Regions from separate parts of the Homo sapiens genome. Here all the other regions are linked to region 1. The links are contacts of gene promoters, found by promoter capture Hi-C in human tissues and cell types (Jung and others, 2019). All regions are on one chromosome and are shown on one strand. Each heading gives the region's core, a stretch centred on a gene start or on the middle of the fragment in contact. The rest is flanking DNA. Distances are from core to core; before and after follow the strand shown.

The links. Contacts are between HindIII fragments. The study calls those that stand out against the background at their distance.
Region 2: a fragment that was not itself captured here is called in contact with the fragment with the promoter of ZNF622 in region 1 in 2 of the 25 tissues and cell types used here (H1 embryonic stem cells and dorsolateral prefrontal cortex).
Region 3: a fragment that was not itself captured here is called in contact with the fragment with the promoter of ZNF622 in region 1 in 1 of the 25 tissues and cell types used here (dorsolateral prefrontal cortex).
Region 4: a fragment that was not itself captured here is called in contact with the fragment with the promoter of ZNF622 in region 1 in 1 of the 25 tissues and cell types used here (mesendoderm cells).

What each region holds. Positions count from the first base shown.
Region 1 is chr5:16,462,255-16,467,064 of GRCh38, forward strand. ZNF622 (zinc finger protein 622) reads right to left here and starts at 3,546. Exons shown (of 6, transcript NM_033414.3): 1 at 2,787-3,546; 2 at 1,228-1,488; 3 at 854-1,016. The coding sequence starts at 3,411. RefSeq lists an enhancer at 2,854-2,923 and a silencer at 4,731-4,810. The HindIII fragment of the contact is 5,798 bases long and covers 1-4,810 here.
Region 2 is chr5:16,040,206-16,044,679 of GRCh38, forward strand. No RefSeq gene overlaps it. Among named protein-coding and RNA genes, the nearest start is that of MARCHF11-AS1, 87 kb to the right of the region's middle. The HindIII fragment of the contact is 5,341 bases long and covers 1-4,474 here.
Region 3 is chr5:16,795,867-16,800,514 of GRCh38, forward strand. All of the region lies in intron 3 of MYO10 (myosin X), which reads right to left. Among named protein-coding and RNA genes, the nearest start is that of MYO10, 140 kb to the right of the region's middle. The HindIII fragment of the contact is 4,165 bases long and covers 1-3,842 here.
Region 4 is chr5:16,012,188-16,016,724 of GRCh38, forward strand. No RefSeq gene overlaps it. Among named protein-coding and RNA genes, the nearest start is that of MIR887, 79 kb to the left of the region's middle. The HindIII fragment of the contact is 3,027 bases long and covers 1,439-4,465 here.

The DNA.
Region 1 (4,810 bases), core at 2,296-4,795:
ATGGTAATTATACACATCTGCTTATCTCCTGTGCTAGCTCACAGGAATTTTGACAACTAGTTGTTCACAAGTACTTAACATACATTTGCTAAATGACATACAAAAAAATTCAAGATTCTAGTTAGGGCCGGGCATGGTATCTCACACCTGTAATCCCAGCACTTTGGGAGACTGAGGTGGGTGGATCACTTGGGTCTAGGAGTTCAAGACCAGCCTGGGTAACATGGCGAAACCCCATCTCTACAAAAAGTACAAAAATTAGCAGGGCATATTGGTGCACACTAGCTGCTGGGGAGGCTGTGGTGGGAGGATCATCTGAGCTCAGGGAAGCTGAGGCTGCAGTAGGCCATGATTGTGCCACTGTCCTCCAGCCTGGGTGACAGCAAAAATCTTTCTCAGAGAAAAAAAAAGATTCTAGTTAGGGGTGAACCACCAATGGGGTAATCTCACCATCAGATGCCTGGTTTGGGCCTGGTTTAGCAACTGTCTCAACTCCTTCAGGAGACAGCTGGTGATGCAAGGACTCTCCAGGAACCCAATATGTGAAACCTAATTTCTGTACCTCTGTTCAAGGGGTAACTGGCAAAACTGAACTCTTGATGTTTTAACCAGAACAAAAACAAAAACAAGTCAAACTTCAGTCTGGGTCTAAGGTCTTCTCTTCACTAGATGTGTTAAACTCTGTTAAACTGAGTTTCTCAACTACAAAGAAAGAACTACCTAATACAGAGGTGTTATAAGTGTTATTAAGGATATGTTGTACAGTGCCAAACATATCCAGCACTGGCACACCTAATAATCACTTCAAAGCAAATATGACCTCACTTTACTTCATATTACAAACTATGCTTACCTAAAATCATAGAAGTCTGCAAATTCCAAAGCAGCATCGCCATCTGTGAAGAGCTTACAGTGGCTTTTGTCATTCATATGTGCCTGTACAGCTTCTGTGGAGTAGAAGGACTTCCCTTTCTCGTTGCACCACAAGCAAATCTTGCCAACACCAACTTTCTCTCCTAGAAAAATAATTTAAGGAAAAAATATGAAAAAAGCTTTTTGCAACCAGATTAAATCTCACTATTTGTCACCAAAACTCAAAAATCATTCACAAAATAACCAAGCAATTATATCAAAGATTGATGAAAAATGCAAAACTAATGTTCCCTTGAGACCAGTCCCCCAATAATGTGATTATTTCCTCATTAAAAGGAAAACTATTGTACTTACCCAAGTATTTAATCAGTCCCTTAATATCTGAAAGATATTCTATATCAGGAATAAAGAAACTGTGGTCTTTGGTCATGTGAGCCACATTCTTCATCAGCGAGCTGGAATGATGGGAACAAAATAAGCAGTCCGTGATAGGGATGGCACCAAGGGGTGGGCCTTCCTCAGCCTCTTCCTCCTCTGCATCCTGCTCCACCACATCGTCCATTGCTTCAGTATCCTCACATTCCAATTCTTCATCAGAATCAATATCTTCCCAATCTGCAAGCCAGAATTTTGAAATATAAAGTTTAAGAAAAGTAGTAGCAAGCAAAGATATCACAAAAATTCACGAGGTGATACAGTCCTATATTTGGAGAAACAGCCACACCCCAACTCCCAAGGACAACTCCTCTTTCAAGATCTCAATTTTAGCTATTTGTTTACCACAGACTCATCTGAATGGCCATGAAACTCCTTAGTCTTTCTTTTCCAGGAAACAGGAATCTTTTCTTTGTTTCTTTCCTATGCCTTACAGCACCTAGCCCAGTGCTGAAAATATAGTTAGGAAGTCTCCTACCTGCCTGGATATTTTTATAAACTTCTAAAACAATGCCTCTATCTACTATTTCACAAAAGTACTATGGGGTGTGTGTATGTGCTGGTAGGGTGCTCTATGAACGGCTATGGTTTGAATGCATGTTTCCCTCCCAAAATTCAAATGTTGAAACTTAATCATCAATGAAATGGCATTAAGAGGTGGGGCCTTTAGTGGGTGATTAGGTTAGGCAAGCACTAATCCTGAATAAATGGATTAGTGCGAGGGAACTGGCTAGCCCCTTTTTTGCCTTCTGCTTCTTCCACCACATGATGACACCATGAGAAAACTTCATCTATAGAACAGGCCCTCACCAGACACTGACTCTGCCAGCACCTTGATTTTGGACTTCCCAATTTCCAGAACTATGGGAAAATACATTTATGTTGTTCATAAATCACCCAGTCTCTAGTACTTCCTTATAGCAGAGTGGACAGACTAAGACATGAACACCTACACCAGCACTGTTAATAGGATGTGGGATGAGGGAAGTAAGGAATAAATAGCTCATAAAGGCAAAGAGGTGAGGGTGCTGGCTCCAGCTCCAAATTTCTGGCTGAGTTGGTTTTGATCCCCTCATTCTGTTTTACTCAACTAAATTAAGTGCAAAACCATCATAACTGGAAACCCACTAGAATCGCAAATTACACGGCAGCTGGTATGACGATAGCATGTCCTCCTGTGCATATGTTAAAAGCCTCTTCATCCAAAACACAGAAGGCATCAATTCATTCTCCAAATATGCATTAAGCACTTCTTTTTCCAGACAAGGTTTTAGGCCTTGGAGAATGAATTGAGTGAACTAAACAGCCAAACCTGCTGGCCAGATAAGGCACTTCAGAAAGCGTCTAAACCACCTTCCCTCATCATTTTTACTTAAAAGCTCTCAAACACACACACACACCCATCTCGAGTATAAATCTGGAAACTTAAGGGTGGGCCAAGTTCCTCTTTACCCTCCCCGCCCAGACAGGGCCATCACCGTCTCCATCCAGGTCCTCTTCCTCCTCCTCGCTGTCCTCCTCCTGCTGCTTTGCCAACTTCTTCGCCTGCTGTTCAAACCACTGGAGCCGGGGTGGTTTCTCACTCGGGTCTCGGTCGTGGGTCCCACGGCCACCAGTACCCACGGCCACGACATTCCTGGCCTCCTTTGCAGGCGCTGGGGGCGCCTTCTTGGGAGACATGGACGGCTGGGCCTTGATGGCCTGCTGGATGGCCGCGTTCATGGCATCCTTGTCCACACTGTCCACGCCCAGTCCTTTCTCCAAGTTCTTTTCATTCATCATCTCCACTTTCCGATTCACTGCCTGCACGGCCTTCTTCTCCAGCTCAACGTGACGCCGGGACTTGAGGTGGTTCTCGTAGGCGTTGAAAGAGGCAAACTTCTTACTGCAAACGGTGCAGTAGGTGGCCGAGCCCTTGCTCTCCTCCTCCGCGACGGCCCGCTGCGCCCGCACTCGCTCCTGGAAGCCCTCGGCGGTCACTGGGGCCATGCTGGCCACCTTCCGCCGCAGGTTGTAGCGGTGCCAGTCCGTCTTATAGTGGGCCCGCTGCATGTCCGCGTCGCGGAACGCCACCCGGCAAGTTATGCAGGTGTACGTCGCCATTGCCAGGCGAGAAATAAGAACCGACCAAGCCAAACACCTGGTGATCAGCGCCGTGGCCCCACAAGACCCTCAGACCTTAACCCGCCTCAGCAGCCAGGAAGAGCCACTCGACACGCCGACTTCCTGATTGTCACTGAGGAAACTTCCGGCACACGTCGGAAGTTATTCACAACTGGACAGGAAACCCGCCTCTCAGGCTGTGGCCACGCCTCCGCCGCCGTGAGGCCCAGGAAGCCGAGGGAACGCTGTGGCTGAAAGGGACCTGGGTCCGCTCAGTCAGCCCGAGGTGGCTGTTGATTGAGGGAGGTCGCGCCCTCCCAGTTACCTTCCCTGGTGGTTGTGCCGCTCGGTGTGACGCGGTCAAGGGGACGGCTACGCGAGAATGGGGGAGTGGGGCGCCCGAGGCTGCTCCTGGGCCCTGGGAAGCCCCCGATTAATGAATGGTCGGGTCAGCGACGCGAGGGTCGGGGTTTCTCTGAGGACCGCGCGCTGCACCTGCGGAGCCGGGTGAATGGATGTCGCGAAGGCAAGGGCTGCCCTTACCCCTCGGGGCCGACCTCGGAGCCCTCGCCCGTGGTTGCAACGCTTTCCCGGGAAACCGGAGAAGCCAGGCCGGGGGCTCGGCCTTTCTGAGGCGGCCCTTCCGGCGGAGGACACCGGCGGAATTTGAGTGCACAGAGTGCGCGAGAGGAGCTCCCTGTAGACACACAGTCCAAGCCACGTAGGTAATTCTAATAGCAGCCACATTTTTAAAGAGTAAAGAGAAATCGGTGAAACTGCTTTTAATGTGTTTAATTTAGCCCATCCTGTCATTTCAGCATGTAATCAGTCTAAAAGAATTAATTAGATCTTTTACGCTCTGTCGTTGGTTCTAAGTCTTGGAAATCCAGTGTGTGTTTTAGAGTTAACAGCCCATCTCAATTTGGACTAGACCCGTGCCAGGTGCCCAGTTGGCTGTGTACCCTCATGTATATAGGACAGCAAAGTTCTGTAGAAAAGAACTTCAGGCCAGGCGCGGTGGCTCACGCCCGTAATCCCAGCACTTTGCGAGGCCGAGGCGGGCGGATCATCTGAGGTCAGGGGTTCAAGACCAGCCTGGCCAACATGGCGAAACCCAGTCTCTGCTAAAAAATACAAAAATTAGTCCCGGCGCAGTGGCGCAGACCTGTAATCCCAGCTACTTGGGAGGTTGAGGCAGGAGAATCGCTTGAACCCGGGAGGCGGAGGTTGTGGTGAGCCGAGATCGCGCCACTGCACTCCAGCCTGGGCAACAGAGCAAGATTCCATCTCAAAAGAAAAAGAAAACATGAACTTCAAATGCTTGGGGAGGTCGTAGATTTCATCCACACAGCCTGGTTGAACCAGAGTCAGCCTTGTTAGAGTCGAATGTTGCATGCTC
Region 2 (4,474 bases), core at 1,367-3,866, 420 kb before region 1:
CCAATAATCACCATGCAGAGGTGAATGCCAAGACAACTGGTAGAGCCCCAGCACTGATCAAACAGAATGATCACCAGTATAAACATCCACCATGACTGTAGCTAGGCATCAGGCTGACCATCAGCCATAAACTTATGTTCCAGAGACTCTATACCCTTACTACACCTATGGCTAGAGGGGAAGTACATGTGTTGTCTTGCTCTCTGTGTCATTAGACACAGATATCTTGGCCACAACAGATTGTACCAGAGATTTGCTTCTCAAGTAAATGCCACATGACTTATATGGTAGCCCTGTGGTTGACAAGGTGGTCAAGTCTGGATGTTTGTCTTTCTGCACCTGGCTTATTTCACCTAATATAATAACCTCCAGTTCTATCCATGTTGCTGCAAATGACAAGATTTCATTCTTTTTTATGACTGAATAGCATTCCATTGTGTATACATATATATATATATAACATTTTCTTTATCCATTCATTCGTTGATAGACACTATGGTTGATTCCATATATTGGCTATTGTGAAGTGCTATAATAAACATCAGAGGGCACGTATCCTTTTGATGTACTGATATCTTTCCCTTTGGATAAATACCCAGTAGTGGGATTGCTGGATCGAATGGTAGTTCTATTTTTAGTTTTTTTGAGAAATCCTCTTACTGTTTTTTGTAATGGCTGTGCTAATTTACATTCCCACCAACAGGGTGTAAGAGTTCCCTTTTCTCTGGGCAACATATGTTATTTTTTGTCTTTTCAAGATAGTCATTCTAACTGAGGTGAAATGATATTTCATTGTGGTTTTGATTTGCATTTTTCTGACCACAGCCCATTTGAATCCACAGAATATTTCATGTCTCCCCCTACATGATTATAACTGTAGCTAATGTTTTCAGAAGACCTATCAAGTGCCAAGCCCCACTTAAGTCCTTTCTGTGTACTGATTCTATTACTGTTTATCCCACCCCTATGAGGTAAATAATATCATGCTGTTTTACAGATGAGATACCAAGGCACGGGGAAGTTAAAGTGACTCCCCCAACATCACACAGCTGGTAAGGGGGAATTGAGGTGTGCACCAGGCAGGCCGGCTCCACAATCCCTGCTGTTCCTCCTCATGATAGGAGTGTTTTCACTGAAGAATGAGTCACACAGAACAGAAGGTTTCCACACATCTAGTACACTTTTAAATTCATCTCATACAGATGAAAAATAATATGCCTGTGGATTTAGCTATTCAATTAATAAACACACTTGAAGCAACACATGGGTGTCTGGACGTCTTATGATGGCCTCCCTTATCCTGGTAACATATGATTAGACCCCCTCCCCTCTGCCCCCACAGCCCTGGGGCCTACTGTTCCCCAGACTTCTCATACTGTCTTGGACATAGGCTGCCTGTTGGGTGTGTCCTTGCTGTCAGGGACTGTAACTTCTTCATTGCTGTAATTCATGTATCCATCATGTCTTGCCTATAATAGGTGCTCAATAAATATTTTTTTGGAATGCATAAATACATAGTTCTTTTTTTTTTTTGACAGAGTCTTGCTCTTTCACCTAGGCTGGAGTGCAGTGGCATGATTTTGGCTCACTGCAATCTTCACCTCCTGAGTTCAAGTGATTCTCCTGCCTCAGCCTCCCAAGTAGCTGGGACTACAGGCATGCACCACCATGCTAGGCTAATTTTTTGGTATTTTTAGTAGAGACGGGGCTTCACCATGTTGGTCTGGCTGGTCTTGAACTCCTGACCTCAAATGATCCTCCCACCTAGGCCTCCCAAAGTGCTGGGATGACAGGCTTGAACCACCATGCCCGGTTGGAATGGATAAATGCATAGTTCTGTATCTAGCTCCTCCCTTCTCCTACCAAAGATGTTTTCAAGTACAGATGATTTGGAAATGACTAGCCTAGGCTGTGAAATTGATAGTAATGCAAGGTCTTCAGAGAGAGGGGTACAGAGGAGAAGTAGGGCTCTAAGTGAGCTCCCCTAGAGGTGCCAGTATAAAAACACACAAGGTTGGTTTCAGGACACCTTTTCATGGGCTCTGATTGAGCAAGTTTTGGGGGACAGTCATGGACATTATGTTCAGTGTGGAGGGTTGAGTGGTCAGTGTAGGCAGAAACCTTCAGTGAAGATAGCGGGGCTTTGGCTAGTCCTTGCCTGAGGGTGCTGCAGGACATGACTTTCATGTGGTACCTGGGACAGAGTAAAAGGCACTATTCCCAACACTGTAAGGGCCACATTGGCTATCTGAGGATGAACCAGATGCACCTAGGATGTGGGCAGCCTGCCTGGGCTGCTGATCCCAAATGGCTGTATAACAAGGACTGGCTCCTTCAGCTCAACTTCTGGCCAAGCCACAGGGAGACTCTCCCTCTCAAGCTTCTTCTAGAAGAAATTTACTCATTGCTATTTAAACTGAATAAAAAGACACACTGGGAAATTTCAAGCCTATCATTGTGGATATGAAATTGGGCATTAGGGCACAAAAGGAGCCCAGGGCATTGGCCTTTTGAGAGTCTGGGGTTGCTTTTTGTTCACACATCTTGGGTCTACCAATCTGGGGTGTTGTAGACTTTTAGGCAGGCCCTTCTCATCCTAAGGAATAGTTAAGAAATCCTAGAGGGCTCAGTCTGAGCCCAGTATGGAATAAATAAGAGCTCCCCAAGGGAAGCAGGTTCTGACTTATGTTGTTGGAAAATGACCCATGAGTCATTTTCTAACTAATGATAGCAAATCATTAGTTTCGAGAGGGTCTTTGATCCTGAATTAGATCACATGTGTGAAGCTCATTCCTTCCTTTTCATAAAAGTCCCTGTGGCCCTTAAGCATTAAGGTGGGGGGTGGGGGCGCAGAGAGGAGGATACAGAGAACGTTCTCCAGTAGTTTGCCAATAAGGTAAACTTCTAGGAGAGAGGACTCCTAGCTCAGAAAGGTCATCCTGAGGCGATAACTTGGAGAATGGACAACTTGCTTGTCTCTGTCTGGTTGTTTGACATCCCTCCTGCTTTTGCACCATGGTTTGTGACCTTGACCTTGGATAGTTTTTCTTTACAGAATGGATCCTGATGCCCACCCTGTGCAGTCAACTCAGCAGTAAAATAAACAATGAATTAGCCATCACATGTTAACACTGTAAAGTTCTCAAAAATGAGAAATATACAAAAAGTGCAAGGTAATAGTGTGTCGGATATAGGCATAGAATCAACTTTTCTTGCTGGGTAGAAATAAATCAAAAACAGACACTTCCCTTGATCATAGATGAGGAGGTATCTGGGGCTGGATAACAGCAGGTTGCTGAATCTAAAATGCACATAAAATCCAATTGTAAATTGGCTGACTACAGAATGGGACTGGATTCACTTATTGCTAATTAGGATGAATAAAAGGAGACACTGTGAGATGTGAAGCTTGGGATTATGGGTAGGGGAAGCCATTTGATGGAGGAAATGTATTTTTCCTGATGTTTTGGAAAATCACTTCGTGTAATGTCTGGTTCATTACTTATGCCCTGAAATATGCACGAAGTAAGAACCAAGGATATTTCTGATAAAACCACATTCCATGAAACCCAATCCAAAGGGGCCTTAAGGATCCACGCTGGGAAAAGTGAGTGAGTTTAGCTCCCTATTTAAAAATGACTTTTTTGGCCTGGGCTGTATGGAAAGACATTTTTCCTTCTGCCCCAAGTGATAAAATACACATCACTGAGCAATGCTCTGGATACTGTTAGCTGAGGCTGGTGTGAGGTCCGGATAGTCCATTTGATTATTCATTTTATTTGTACCTCCTGGTACTAACTTGTCTGTCTTAGGGTGAACTCACTATTCCTTTACTCTATCTAGAAAGGAAATGAACTGCCAGGCTCATGCAAGGTAGGGGAGACTAGGGAGGTGTAAGGACAGAAGAAATCAGCTAGATGTTGGGCATAACATAGCAGAATCTTCTATGGAAATTCTTACTCCATAATGTTGGAACACCCCTTTTCCCCAACTTTCTGGCCAGAGGTAAGCTAGGAGAGTTATTTTAATCTTAACTCTATTTAGGGCATTGGAGTGTTCCAAACAGAAGATTATTTGCTGGGCATTTTAAACAATTGATTCCACATGGATTCCCTCCGCATCATTTTTGGAATTGTTTTCTCTAGACGTGTTCTAAAGATAGAATGTACATATTCACTAAAGATTGAAGGATGCTGAAATATTAAGCAGCCAGAATGGCAAATGTTGTCACATTCTGGTTTCAATCGGGCAAATGGCTTCAATTCTTGTGTTTTTCTTGGTGTTTCAATGAGGCATCTAAGACAGTAACTCTGGCAGAGTAGGGCCCACAGGAGGAATAATGAGGAAAAATTATCTATACCTTTGCTCAAGTGCATACTTTGAGAATATTTTGTGATAGTAATACATGACTTTTACTTCAAATTAGTTTTTGGAGAACTGGAATGAGAAATGTAGACTGCGTGTATGTGTGTGT
Region 3 (4,648 bases), core at 510-3,009, 330 kb after region 1:
TTTAAAAGATAACGTGACCATTTCGAAAATGCTAGGTATCAGACCGAGCGCAGTGGCTCACGACTGTAATCCCAGCATTTTGGGGGGCCGAGGTGCGAGGATCTCAAGATCAGGAGACCAAGACCACCCTGGCTAACAGAGTGAAACCCCGTCTCTACTAAAAATACAAAAAATTAGCCAGGCCCGGTGGCACACACCTGTAATCCCAGCTACTCGGGAGGCTGAGGCAGGAGAATCTCTTGAACCTGGGAGGTGGAGGTTGCAGTGAGCCAAGATTGCGCCACTGCACTCCAACCTGGGCGACAGAGCGAGACTCTGTCAAAAAAAAAAAAAAAAAGAAAGAACAGAGAGAGAGCGAGAAAGAGAAAGAGCGAGCGTGCGAGAGAGAGAGAGAGAGAAAGAAAGAAGGAAAGAAAGAAAGAAGAAAAGAAAGAAGGAAAGAAAGGGAAAGAGAGGAAGAAAGGAAAGAAAGGGAAAGAGAGGAAGAAAGGAAAGAAAGGGAAGAAAAAGAAAAGAACAGAACACAACACAAAAGAAAAAGAAAGGAAAGAAAGGAAAAAGAAAGAAAAGAAAGACAGAAAGAAAGAAAGAAAGAAAGAAAGAAAAGAAAAGAAAAGAAAGAAAGAAAGAAGGAAAATAAATAAATAAATAGAGGCTACAGAGTTACCAAAGCTTAATGCCTTAGGCCTCTCCATGTGGACATAACTATTCACTTCTACTTTTACAGGAAATACTAACTCTGATTACCTGGCTTCCAGGCTCAGACACAACTAGGGAAGTCAGTCAGACAGGGGTGGGAGCAGAGAGTCCTGCAACCACCATCAACCACTAACCACCAACCAACTTTTACAAAGCTCGTACAGTGTGTCTAGGGCTTTATGGGCTGTTAAGGGCTGATTCATGCCTTCTCCCCAAATTCACATGCTGAAGCCCTAATCCCAAGTACTTAAGAATGTTACTATGCTTGGAGATAGGGGCTTTAAATAAGTGACTAACTTAAAATGAGGCCATTAGGGTGGGCCCTAATCCAATCTGACTGGTGTCTTTGTTAGAAGAGGAAATTTGAACACACAAAAAGACACCAGGGATGCATACACCCAGGGGGGTTGGCGGAGGGTAACAAAAAACAAGAAAACTAGACAGAAAGTCCAAACATCCTGAGAGCATCTATACCATATTATAGCAATTTGTAATATTTTATATTCATAGTATCAGCCAGGAACATCAAGCAAAGTATTGTTTTGTTCAGTATAACTTTTCAAATGCAAATAAGTCCATACAGGTTGAGTATCACTAATCCGAAAACCAAAATCTGAAATGCTGTAAAATCTGAAGCTTTTTGAGCACCAACATGATGCTGAAAAGAAATGTTCATGGGGGCATTTCAGATTTCAGATTTTCTGATGAGGGATGCCCAACTGGTAAGTATAATGCAGATACTTCTAAATCAGAGAAAATATCAGAAGTCCAAAACACTTCAGGTCCCAAGCATTCTGGATAAGGGTTACTCAACCTGGAATGTGTTTTGGAAATAATATGAAGCAAAAGATTTAAAAAAAGGTTAAAAACATAAAAGATATTACCATATGACCCAGCGATTCCACTCCTAGATACATATCAAAAAGAAGCGAAAGAAAATACTCAAACACTTGTACACACATGTTCACAGAAGCACCATTCACAACAGCCAAAGGTGGAAACAATGCCAAGGGCCCATCATCAGATGAATGGATGTGGCATACCCACACCATGTAATATTACTTAGCCACAAAAAGGAATAAAGTGCTGATCCATGCTACAATGTGAATGAGCCTTGGAGACATATTAAGCCAGACACAAAAGTTCACATATCCAGAATAGGTTAAGTCCATAGAAACAGCAAGATGGGTGGTTGCTAAAAGCAGACAGTGGCAGGAGAGGGGAATGACTGCTTCACTGGTACAGGGTTTCCACCTAAGGTGATAAAAATATTGTAGAACTAAGATACAGGTTGTATGGTTTGAATGTTTGTCCCCTCCTAAACTTGTGTTGAAATTTAATTGCCATTGTAACAGTATTAGGAAGGTGATTACAAAGGTAAGAGCTGATTATGTCATGGGGCTCTGCTCTCATAATGGATTAATGCCATTATTGCAGGAGTGAGTTAGTTATTGCAGAGTGGGCTCTTAATAAAAGAGTAAGTTCGACATGCATTCTCTCTGTCTCACACTCAAGCTTTCTCATCATGTGATGCCTCAGGCCATGACACAGCAAGAGGGTCCCACCAGATGCCAGCGCCATGCTCTTGGACTGGCCAGTCTCCAGAACCATAAGCCAAGTAAACTTTTGCTCCTTATAAATTACCCAGTGTGTGGTATCCTGTTTTGGCAGCAGAAAGCATACTGAAACAGAGTTGTTGGTTGTACAGCATTGTGAATGTACTAAATGCCACTGAGTTGTACACTTCAAAATGGTTAATTTTATGTTAAATGAATTTCACCTTAATTAGAAAAAAAAGATCTGGTGCTTTTATGAGTAAATGTTCAGGTCCTTGGAAACATCAACTCTCTAGAAAACCCATTTTGTCCTGTCGGAGCACTATGGGGAAGATTTGGCCAGAAAAAAAAAGATGGAAGTTGGAAAAAAAAAAGTGTCCTACTCCTTGGGATGCCTCCATCCTCCATCAGTGCCTGGACCACAGACACTCCAGTGCCTCCTTCTATCTAACATCTGCAGAGGTGAGGGAGCAGGCAGACAATACTTGAGGCTGTGAGTGCCTGGCCCCTTCCACTACTTTGTTTAAAATGCCATGTTTGTTTTCTACCTTTTTGATAGTTGTTTACATTATTTTCTTTTTTCTGCTAAGTATCAAAAATGTTCATTTTTACTGTGAAATACATTCTTATTTTTTTCCCTACTGTGACAGGACTGTCACTCTTTATGCAGCCAGGTAGGTCAGAGGAAGCTGACAAGCAACAGTCAACACTGCCAACCATCAACACGGCGGGCTCAACTGAGCACACACCAATCCTCTTCCTCAGTTGCAAGCAGAGGGTGAAAGCCACAGTCATGGGCATTAAGCTTATTATTAAATTTAATTAATTTATTATTAGGATATTCACCCATCATTAACACACCTTTTAAAAAATGATATGCCCATATCATTTTGCATGCCCCATTCATGACACGTTTGTATGGTTGCTGTAAAATTCTAAGATGAGCCTTTCTTTCTTAAGGCACTGATTTACTTATAAAACCATTATTAAAACTTCTTACACAGCTTTCTTCAAAAGAATGATCATGTTTTTTAAACCATATTCCTCCTCCTGGTTGGGGAACCTCACTAGCCATAGAGCATCCTTTTAAGATACTGCTCGTTCTGACAGTGTGGATGACATGGGCTTTGAATGAAGGTAGAAGACAAAGTGGCATTAAGCCTGTTAGCAAAGGTGAAGACGCAACATCCAAAATGGTCTCATGCTTGACTTTTTACAGTAATTCACACCACACCTTGTCCAGTGAAATAGTTTTTAAATGTTTCAGAATGACAATGTAGTAGCTGTGGCAACTAGAGACAACATATGCAACCCAGAAATCAATGTCCACAGGTCCTCTTCCACCAGAATCAGCAGTGCTTTAGAAGAGAAATACTTTTTTTTTTTTTTGAGACTGAGTCTCGCTCTGTCATCCAGGCTGGAGAACAGTGGCACAATCTCGGCTCACTGCAACCTTCGCCTCCCGTGTTCAAGCGATTCTCCTGTCTCAGCTTCCCAAGTAGCTGGGATAACAGGTGTGTGCCCCTACGCCCACCTAATTTTTGCATTTCTACTAGAGACGGGATTTCATATATTTTGGCCAGGCTGGCCTCAAACTCCTGACCTCAGGTGATCCACCCACCTCAGCCTCCCAAAGTGCTGGGATTACAGATATGAACCACTGTGCCCGGCTGAGAAAGGACTCTTAACAGCGGACGCTCCCTGGGGAGGCAGCCCACAGACTCTGCAGAATTATGTGGCATCCTTGCTGATGGTCACGCAGCTCACAAAAGGCATCGGGATACTCTCCTCTGCTAAGCCGAGTCCCTGCCACCCCACACTACTGCCACCAATCAATTCTGAGTCACCATCTTTCAGAAGAAAAGATAATCGGGCATGCTGTGAAACAGAACACTTTACCAGATGGCCTCAAAAAGCACACGGTTCGAGAGTGAAAGACCAAAACCATCCAGCTGGTTTAGTTATAGAAGATGTTAATCATGGCCAATGACCAGCACAGCTCTGGTGGTTGCACACTTTTCCTACAATAATATTGATCTTTGTATCTGACTCTTACAATAAAATGCATGCTTCATCTGTCAGTCAGCCTAGTGAGTTACCATGAAAAAAATATGGTCCCTCATTACTACACATTGTCAATAAATTTAAAATCCCGGCCAGCTACGGTGGGTCATGACTATAATCCCAGCACTTTTGGAGGCCAAGGTGGGAGAACTGCCTGAGCCAAGGAGTTCAAGACCAGCCTGGGCAATATAGGAAGACCCCATCTCTACTTAAAAATATATTTTTAAAATTCTGCATAAATATTAATAACAGACTGTTGCTGCTTTAGGCAAGAAAGCCTTGATTGTTCCCGTTTTGATGAGAAGCTTCTGAAGGGTACAGCATGTGCT
Region 4 (4,537 bases), core at 1,702-4,201, 450 kb before region 1:
CACAGCTGCAGTAACTTCCTCCACACTGAAGTCTTGAATCCCTCAAAGCCATCATGAGAGCTGGAATCAACTTATTCCAAACTCTTATTCATGTTGTTATTTTAACCTAATCTCATGATTCATGCCTGTTCTTAATATGGCATCTAAAATAGTAAATCTTTTCCAGAAGGTTTTCAATTTACTTTACCCAGATCCATCAGAGAAATCATTATTTATGGCAGCTGTAGCTTTACAAAAAGTATTCTTAAATAATAAGACTAGATATTTGAAATTACTCCTTGATCCATGGGTTTTAGGATGGATGTTGTGTTAACAGGCATGAAAACCGCATTAATCTCCTTGTATATCTCCATCGGAGCTCTTGAGTGACCAGGTGCATTGTTAATAAGGAATAGAATTTGGAAAAGAATCTTCTTTTCTAAACAGTAGGTCTTACCAGTGGACTTAAAATATTCAAAAAACCATATCGTAAACAGATAAGCTGTCATCCAGGTTTCGTTGTTCCATTTATAGAGGAAAGGCAGAATACATTTAATATAACTGTTAAGAGCCTTAGAAATTTGGGAATTATAAATGTGCATTAGCTTCAACTTAAAGTCCTCAGCTGCATTAGACCCTAACAAGAGACTTAACCTGTCTTCTGAAGCTTTGAAGCCAGGCATTGACTGATCTACATTGAAAATCTGTTGTTTAGTGTAGCCACCTTTACCAATGATCTTAGCTAATCTTCTCAATAACTTGCTACAACTTCTACATCAGCACTTACAGCTTCACCTTGTACTTTCATGTTCTGGAAATCACTTCTTTCCTTAAACCTGATGATCCATCCTCTGCTAGCTTCAAACTTTTCTACTGCAACTTCCTCACCTCTCCTCAGCCTTCATAGAATTGAAGACAGTTAGGGCCATGCTCTGGATTGGGCTCTGACTTAAGGGAATGTTGTTGCCAGTTTGATCTTCTTTCTAGACCACTAAAACTTCCCTTGTATTAGCAGGGAGGCTGTTTTCCTTTATATCATTTGTGTGCTCACTGGAATGGGTCTTTTAATTTCCTTCAGGAACATTTTCTTTGCATTCACAACTTGTCTAACTGTTTGACTTAAGAGGCCTAGCTTTCAGCCTATCTTGGCTTTCAATATGCCTTTCTCACTAAGCTTTTGATTTAAAGTGAGAGACATGCCACTCATTCTTTCACCTAAACATTTAGAGGCTACTGTAGGCTTACTAACTGGCATAATTTCAATATTTTGTGTCTCAGGGGATAGGGACGACTGAGAAGAGGGAGAGAGATGGGGAAACAGCTGGTCAGTGGAGTAGTCAGAACACACATTTATGGGTTAAATTTTCTGTTTTATATGGGTATGACTCATAATGCCCCAAAGCAATTACCATAGGAACACTAAAGATCACTGGTCACAGATCATCATAACAAATATAGTAATAATGAAAAAGTTTGTAATTTTGTGAGAATCACTAAAATGTGACACAGAGACATGAAGTGAGTCCATGCTGTTGGAAAAATGGCATCAGTAGACTTGCTTGACACAGGGTTGCCCTAATCCTTCAATTATTAAAAAAAATAAATAAAGCAAAGTGCAATCAAATGAGGTATGCCTGTATTCTGCCTTGCACCTATAATTCTGGCTGACTGATGCAGGCAGTGAGTCACCTAGCAACGGATGCCAAGGAACCAAATCCACCTATTTCCAAGGAGATGGAGTTAAGCTTCTTTAGGGAAGCCACGGTTAGAGATGACAGCTCACTCTGAATATGTGGCACATATTCTATGTACAGCTCTGCCCTAGACCACTCACTTTTATCAGATTTGGAAGACCTGGTGGAATCTGAGGCCATAGCAACCCAACCAAAATGGGTTCAATTTGTGTGTTGGAGAAATGTGTATCCATTTCACCTCCATGAAAAATGAGCTCTTGTGTCTGAGAAGCCATTTTTTGCCATGGGAATCTGAAGAACAGTGGTTAAGGGGGCTCAGTTGGCGGTGTGAATCTTCAGCTTTCTTCATTCCTAATTGTTTGACTTTGGGAAAAGTTCTTAATCTCACTAAACCTGATGCTACTAATCTGTAAACAAGGGCTATAATAGTACCCACCTCGTAGGCAGAGAGCCATTTTGAGGTTCAAATAACAGCTATTGTTATGATTCAGGGTCAAGCAGAATGTAATCAGCTGGATTGCAGGAGAATAGGTTTAGAGTTGACATAAAAAGGAATGTCTCTGCAGGAAGAGTTACAAATATTACCGTGAAAATTTATAGAAACTCCTTCCATGAAGACTTTGGCAATAATGCTGACTATAAAATTACGTGATGGTTGTTTCTGGCCACTCAAGATTTTACACAGTCAAGTAAGTGGCTGTCATCCCCTCAAAGTTACCACCTTGGAGATTTATACCCTGATTCCAATGATATTGCTTTTTAGCAAACTTTCTTTGGTATCTCATCACTAAAATGGCCTTCAGAGCATGTAATGTTTTCCCTTCAACATCCCTTTATAGAGTAAAACCGTCATCCTAGAGCTGATCTGACTTTTAGAAACAAACAAAAGTCATTCAAAACCAGTAAAGAGAAGGGACTATACAATGAGAAAGAATCATATGTAGCACTGAGATTTGCATTCACGCGTTCTTTACATGAAGAGATTAGAAACGAAAAGGACTTCTTTACATCTTATATATGATGCTTTAGCTGCAAATGCCCTGGAACCTGTTTTTTTCTTGGATAGTTGACACACAATTGTTTATCATGTTTTCTATCCTTTGTGGCGGGCCTGAAATATAATAAAAAGTCTTTTTAAAAGACTAATTTTTGAAACAAAAAAACCAATTGGGAATCTGGCTTCCCCAAAAGCCACTCCTTCTTAACTGCTTCCAGAATCTCATAATTTGCTTCCCTAACTCTCTCATGATTTGGTCACATCCAGAGCCTATTTAATGGGAAATATTTCTAATCTCCCTTAACAGATGGATTCTATCTGTTTAAGACTCACACCTGATTAGCGGAGAGCCTTATCTAGTGAGGATTGCCAATGATTAAACTTCCACTGCTTTTGCTACCAGAATCTCACATTTCCAACCAACTGCCACAGGACACACTCACATTCCTGGTGGATATTTAGATGAATACTAATGACTGATCCGTGTGCCAAATCACAGGTTGCTAACTGTCCTCTGCAACATTGGTGTTACTGCCATTCTCATGAACCAAGTTAGTTCATCCCAGAGGGACCAAACCCAAGAGTGAATTAGGCAGATGAGTTGGAAGGGAATGCAGAATCCACTAAGAGCAAAAAAATTGTGTGGAGAGTCCCCAAAGTTTCCTAAGCCAAGAATTTTATCCTTTTTTTTGGATCTGCTTCTCCAGCCTCCCTCCACCCCAGCACATTCACATTTTCTCTGAAATCCTCCACGGAGCAGTATCACCTCAGGACTTGTGTTCTGGGTAAAGAACTCCCCAATGCAAGCAAAGCCTGCCTTGATCATAATACCCAGGTCTTCTAAAATGTCTCTGCTAAGGTCACTTAAGGTCACTTGTCTGGACAAGTGTCTACACTATGACTGATGACCTGGAGGCTCTGTATGACTGTGCTGGCTGTAAAACTGTGGGGCAATTGGTCTGGCTGAGTACTGGGCCCTCTGTCCCTGTTGGGCAGAGTCCTGGCTACTTTCAACCTCGATCTGAAGCTCTCCTCAGGGACGGGTTCCCACTTGCAGCTCTCTCTCTGGTGAGAAAGAACAATGCGAGGAGAGGCTCTGGCCCCTAATATTTCTGAGTTTGGCTACAATTTGTTGATGGGTCACACAGGTGGTACCCTCCCTCACTCTTACCCCTGCATGGAAGTCCCTGCTAATTGATCCAAACTATCTTTCCTGGTGAAGATGGAGTCATTCTCTAAATTATATTTGCATAACAGTTTTCGAAACCACAATCAATCAATAGGTGTTAGCATGCAAAATGAAACATATTTGCTCTCAAGATTCTTGGCCAGATCCAAGGAGCTCAGAAAGCATAAGCTCTATGAGCTGCTTCCTCCCATATTTTTTTAAATGACAAGAAACATATTCATAATATGCATAAACATCTAAATGTTACTGCTGTAGAATCAGAACGTCTGAAAAGTTAGAACAACTTTGGAGACTTCATTTTGCAGAAGAGGAAATGGAGTCCTATGGTAAAGTTTCTCTCTCTCTCTCTCTCTCTCTCTCTCTCTGTAGCTATTGGGCATCTGAAGCCCTCTTACAAATGGGAAATTCCTCAGCTCATGAGTCTCAGTAGGAAGCAAAGCTTGATTTTCACTCTAGATGCTGAAAACCTCAAACTTTCACCTTCTCAGCCTCCCTTGCAGCTAAGTATGGGCACATGACCAAGGCTGCACTAATCTGAAGTACCTATTCCAAATTCTGAATTGGGAGCTTGAGATGTAAAAAGGTAGGGAGATTCCCTTCTGATGGTGGGCAGTGGCAGTCGTGATTTCAGGAGCTCCAGGCTTGATGCTGCAATGCAGTATTCTTGCTCAGTTCTGG